Regions from separate parts of the Homo sapiens genome. Here region 1 is linked to region 2. The links are contacts of gene promoters, found by promoter capture Hi-C in human tissues and cell types (Jung and others, 2019). All regions are on one chromosome and are shown on one strand. The core of a region is centred on a gene start or on the middle of the fragment in contact, and the rest is flanking DNA. Distances in the headings are between cores, read along the strand shown. Region 1 has its middle 33 kb from the start of LINC00885. Region 2 holds the start of MUC20 (mucin 20, cell surface associated).

Region 1 (2,751 bases), core at 38-2,537, 450 kb before region 2:
CCAGGCGCGGTGGCTCACGCCTGTAAACCCAGCACTTTGGGAGGCCGAGGCGGGCGGATCACCTGAGGTCAGGGATTTGAGACCAGCCTGGCCAACATGGCAAAAATTTGTCTCTACTAAAAATAGAAAAATTAACCAGGTGCGGTGGCACATGCCTGCAATCCCAGCTACTTGGGAGGCTGAGGCCGGAGAATCGCTTGAACCCAGGAGGTAGAGCTTGCAGTGAGCTGAGATGGTGCCACTGCACTCCAGCCTGGGCAACAGAGCGGGACTTCATCTCAAAAAATAAATAAATAGATAAAAGTTATAAAAACATTTTTAAAATAAAACATTAAAAAAACCACGTTATGGCAAAGCACGATGGCTCACACCTGTAATCTCAGCACTTTGGGAGGCTGAGATGGGTATATATATGTATATAACGTGTTATTTTTATTTAGGGAGTAATTTATAAGTGAAGATTTATTTATTTATTTATTTATTTATTATTTTTGAGACAGAGTCTTGCTCTGTGGCCCAGGCTGGAGTGCAGTGGCACGATCTCGGCTCACTGCAACCTCTGCCTCCCGGGTTCAAGTGATTCTCCTGCCTCAGCCTCCTGAGTAGCTGCGATTACAGGTGCCTGCCACCATGCCCAGCGAATTTTTGTGTTTTAGTAGAGACAGGGTTTCACCATGTTGGCCAGGCTGGTCTTGAACTCCTAACCTCAAGTGATCTGCTCGCTTCGGCCTCCCAAAGTGCTGGGATTACAGGCATGAGCCACTGCGCTCAGCCTAATAAGTGCAAATTTAAATAAAGAATCAGAGAAAAGAAGTGTAGACAACGCTTCGGAGCCATTTTGCTGCAGAGAGAAGGAAGGCAGCGGGTGACGGCTGGAGGAGGATGAGGGAAGCTTCCCTCTTTTGCACGTGAAGCACTAGGTTCAGAGGTTAAGTGACTCACGCAGGCTCACACAGCCAGCCTGGCTCAGCCTGGAATGGCACCCATGCCTCTGACCCCCAGCACTTTCCTGCCCTAGAGGTGCTGCCTCTTTCTTGTGGTCATTATCAGGGTCATCGGATGCTGCCCCTGCATCCGAGGTAGGGTTGGTCTCCCCTGCTCCTACCAGAGCTCCAAGAGTCCCAGAGCCTTGGAGTGAGAAAGGCCCACCCTGTGACCCCTCAACACACTTGTTAGAACATCCTTCTTGCTCGTCTCTTGCTGTGCTATGAGATCAGCTTCCAGAAGTGGGAGTGATGGCGCATCTCTGGTTTAATGCATGCTTATGTGTGTTGCAGAGCTATCGTGCTGTGTAACGGGAACGCTGCAGCCACTGGGCATTGGGTGGTCAGCCGGGGTAGGGGCCTGACTCTGCCATTTGCTCAGTTTGACCCTTGGTCAAGTTCTTCACCTTTTCGGAGGCTCATCTGCAAAAGGGGGCTAATGCCTGCTCCCAGGATGGTACCGAGGACTGAGCGAGCCCAGCAGGGGGGCTGCCTGCCACACAGCAGGCGCCGAGTGAACGAGTGAACGCAGGGGTTTTTCCCGGGCCCCGCCACCACTCCGTTTCTTTCACAGGCAAGTCTGGGTCTCATTGACCTCTCTGGGACCAAGTGCAGACCACCCACCACACACCGCCCCACTGGCTGAGGAGACTAGGACACGGTTTTCTTTTTCTTTTGAATGTTCCCATAGGTTATTGGGGTACGGGTGCTATTTGGTCACATGAGTAAGTTCTTTCGTGGTGATTTGTGAGATTTGGGTGCAACCATCACCCAAGCACTATACGCTGCACTCTATTTGTAGTCTTTTATCCCCCGACCCCCTCCCACCCTTCCCCGCAAGTCCCCAAAGTTAGGACCTGGTTTTCTGAGTTTAGGAGACAGGGTCGCAGCCACTGCCCTGGAGAGAGTTTTACTGGCTCCTGTGAGTGCCAGGATGTGGGCATGAGACAGCTGACACTCAGGCTGAGTCCAAAGATGGCCCCAACTGACCCCACAGCTGTCCTGGAACCTGCTGCTTGGTCCAGTGAACCACAGAATTTGCTGTGGGCTGTTAAGCCAGCCATTACTCCCTGGGGTGATGGACCAAGCCAGTTCCAGCTCAGTCTGTCCATCAAGAAACGGGAATAGCTGATGCCATGTGTGGCCCTCATTTTTCTGCTTCATAAAATGAAAGAGTGGGAGGAGGCAATCTCTAAGCCTCTTCCTGCAACAGAAATTGAGTTTTTTTGTAAATTTTCTTTCTCTCTCTTTCTTTTCTTTTTGTTCTTTCTTTCTCTCTCTCTGCCTCTCTCTCTCTCTCTCTTCCTTTCAACAGAGTCTCTCTCTGTCACCTAGGCTAGAGTGCAGTGGTGCAATCACAGCTCACTGCAGCCTCAACCTCACGGGCTCAGGTGATCCTCCCACCTCAGCCTCCCAAGTAGGTGGTACTACAGGCGCATGCCACCATGCCCAGTGAATTTTTGTATTTTTTGTAGAGACAAGATTTCACCATGTTGCCTAGGCTGGTCTTGAACTCCTGGGCTCAAGTGATCCACCTGCCTCAGCCCCCCAGAGTTCTGGGATTATAGGTGTAAGCTGCTATACCCGGCCTTAAGATGTCATTTGAGGGCCGGGCGAGGTGGCTCAAGCCTGTAATCCCAGCCCTTTGGGAGGCCAAGGCAGGTGGATCACTTGAGGTCAGGAGTTTGAGACCAGCCTGGCCAACATGGTGAAACCCCATCGCTACTAAAAATACAAAAATTAGCTGGATGTGGTGGTGCATGCCTGT
Region 2 (2,700 bases), core at 201-2,700:
AAGTCTCTCAGCTCCAAGCCTGCATTTCCGCACCTGTAAGGTGGAGCTAACGGGACACGTGCAGCGCAGACCAGGCCACGGTGAGCACAGGCAGGAGGCCACGGGGTGCAGTGCTCAGGCCTGTGAGGAGTCAGATTCTGGCTCCGAGGAGTTGTTACTGGATGCCCAGAAGCACAGTGGCCTCACCCTTAAAGCAGTGGAGGTGGGGGGTGGTAAAAACAGGGCCGATCTTGCAGGGCCGTTGTGAGGATTAAAAATACAATGTATGATAATGATGCATCAAAGTAGGTTCCTCAGTCCTATCAAATGTGCCACTCTGGTGGGGGACGCTGATGATGGGGGAGGCTGTGAGTGGTGGGGATGGGAACTCCAGACTCTCCACTGCAGCTTTTTTTTTTTTGAAACATAGTTTCACTTTTGTTGCCCAGGCCAGAGCGCAAGGGTGCGATCTCAGCTCACTGCAAACTCCACCTCCCAGGTTCAAGCAATTCTCCTGCCTCAGCCTCCCGAGTAGCTGGGATTACAGGCACCTGCTACCACCCCCGGCTAATTTTGTATTTTTAGTAGAGACGGGGTTTCTCCATGTTGGTCAGGCTGGTCTCGAACTCCTGACCTCAGGTGATCCACCCACCTCAGCCTCCCAAAATGCTGGGATTACAGGTGTGAGCCACCACGCCCGGCCTCTCCACTCGAGGTTTAGAGGGAGCATAGAACTAAAAAAAAAATAAATCCTTTTCTATTTTTTAATGTATGTGATGAGTTTGGCACAACTCCTATTAGCGACAGGTCAGGGTTCATTCCCGTCTTTCACAAAAGCCCTGCCTGTCAGCATCCACCCTTCCCAAGCAGTTTGTGGCAGTTGGACTTTTCACACGAAATCTGTATTTTGAAGGAAATCCATGCTAGGTAATAAACTGGGAGGAGTCAGAATCTTGTTAAGCCACATTCTTCAGCTTTCTGCACAATGATCACCAGCTGGCACCTCCCTGCACCCCCGCTCCGTGCCCCACTTACTGTCCCACGTTCATAAAGACAAACTCTCAGCCATCCCTTACGATGGCAGCGTCATGGTTGATTAGCGTGTACTGCAGCGCCAGGCACGCTTACACTCACACACATCGTCATGGTTGATTAGTGTGTACTGCAGCGCCATGCACGCTTACACTCACACTGTCATTTGCACACTCTTTATCAACAATAATAGCACTTCACAAGTAGCACTGTGGTTCATTATAATCAACCCGAGAGAGCCTGCCCTTGCCCATGAAGGGTGGCTCATACTGAAATTCACTCCCAGAGCCCTACTAGGGGAGAGGCCCACCAGGCCCTTCTAGGCCTCCTTACCTGCAGAGCTCCCAGAGACCCCAACCTCCCAGCAGAAGAAGAAAAGGGGCAGAGCCAGACCCCAGAGACAGCCCATCCTAGCCGGCCACCGCTGCTCCACAGAACTGCTGGCTGTCTCTCGCGGGTACCTTTTCCTGCTTCCTCAAACCAGGGAGGAGGGGCAGCCTCCTGCCCAGGTGTGTGACCAGGTGATCACAAATGTGCAGGCTGAGGGCTGGCAGGTTGAGGCTGTCAGCAAGCTGACCCCCCTGCCTTCCTTGCCCGGTAAACACTCCACTGAAATTTGATTTGAAGATATGGAATCACTAGCTTCTTTTTTTTTTTTTGAGATGGAGTCTTGCTCTGTCACCCAGGCTGGAGTGTACAGTAATGAGATCTCAGCTCAATGAAACCTCTTCCTCCCGGGATCCAACAATTCTCCTGCCTCAGCCTCTGGAGTAGCTGGGATTATAGGCGCGCACCACCACGTCGGGCTAATTTTTGTATTTTTAGTAGAGATGGGGTTTCACCATGTTGGCCAGGCTAGTCTCAAACTCCTGACCTCAGGTGATCTACCTACCTCAGCCTCCCAAAGTGCTGGGAGTACAGGCATGAGCCACTGCACCCAGCCAAGTGCTTTTATTTTCTTAAGCCAATTAATTAGAGCTCTTTTATATATTTTCAGTAGCAAAACACTGTGTACACAACAACACATAAATACACAGATGTATTAGGTATGCTGAAAGAAGTTCATCTTATAGATTCATAAAGAGCTTTTTTCTTACACCTTCAAATTCTTTTTTACTTTTTTTTTTTTTTTTTTTGAGACAGAGTCTCACTCTGTTGCCCAGGCTGGAGTGCAATGGCTTGATCTCGACTCACTGCAAACTCTGCCTCCTGGCTTCAAGTGATTCTCCTGCCTCAGCTTCCTGAGTAGCTGGGATTATAGGCACCTGCCACCACATCTGGCTAATTTTTTTTGTATTTTTAGTAGAGACGGGGTTTCAACATGTTGGCCAAGATGGTTTTGAACTCCTGACCTCAAGAGATCTTTGCGGCTCAGCCTCCCAAATGCTAGGATTACAGACGTGAGCCACCGTGCCCAGCCACACCTTCGAATTCTTGATAACCTGTTTTACTACTCTAAGCGGTTGTCAGCTAAATAGCCTTGAATTTGCATTTTAAGGAAACTGAGGTGAAAATCGAATAGCAAAATTTACATCATAACGTATGGAGAGAAAAAGTCTGGTGTGCTGGAGGGAAATTAAAACAGATTTAATTGCCAATTAAACATAAAATTATAGAAATTATAAAGGCCTTTTAAATATATACACACACACAAAGATCCTATAGCTTTTACTTCAGAAATTTAGCCAT

The links. Contacts are between HindIII fragments. The study calls those that stand out against the background at their distance.
Region 1: a contact is called between a fragment that was not itself captured here and the fragment with the promoter of MUC20 in region 2, in 1 of the 25 tissues and cell types used here (IMR-90 fibroblasts).

The regions. Positions count from the first base shown.
Region 1 is chr3:196,174,101-196,176,851 of GRCh38, reverse strand. No RefSeq gene overlaps it. Among named protein-coding and RNA genes, the nearest start is that of LINC00885, 33 kb to the right of the region's middle. The HindIII fragment of the contact is 4,018 bases long and covers 1-2,751 here.
Region 2 is chr3:195,719,728-195,722,427 of GRCh38, reverse strand. It overlaps MUC20 (mucin 20, cell surface associated), which reads right to left and starts at 1,450. Exons shown (of 4, transcript NM_001282506.2): 1 at 1,345-1,450. The coding sequence starts at 1,420. The HindIII fragment of the contact is 11,607 bases long and covers 1-2,700 here.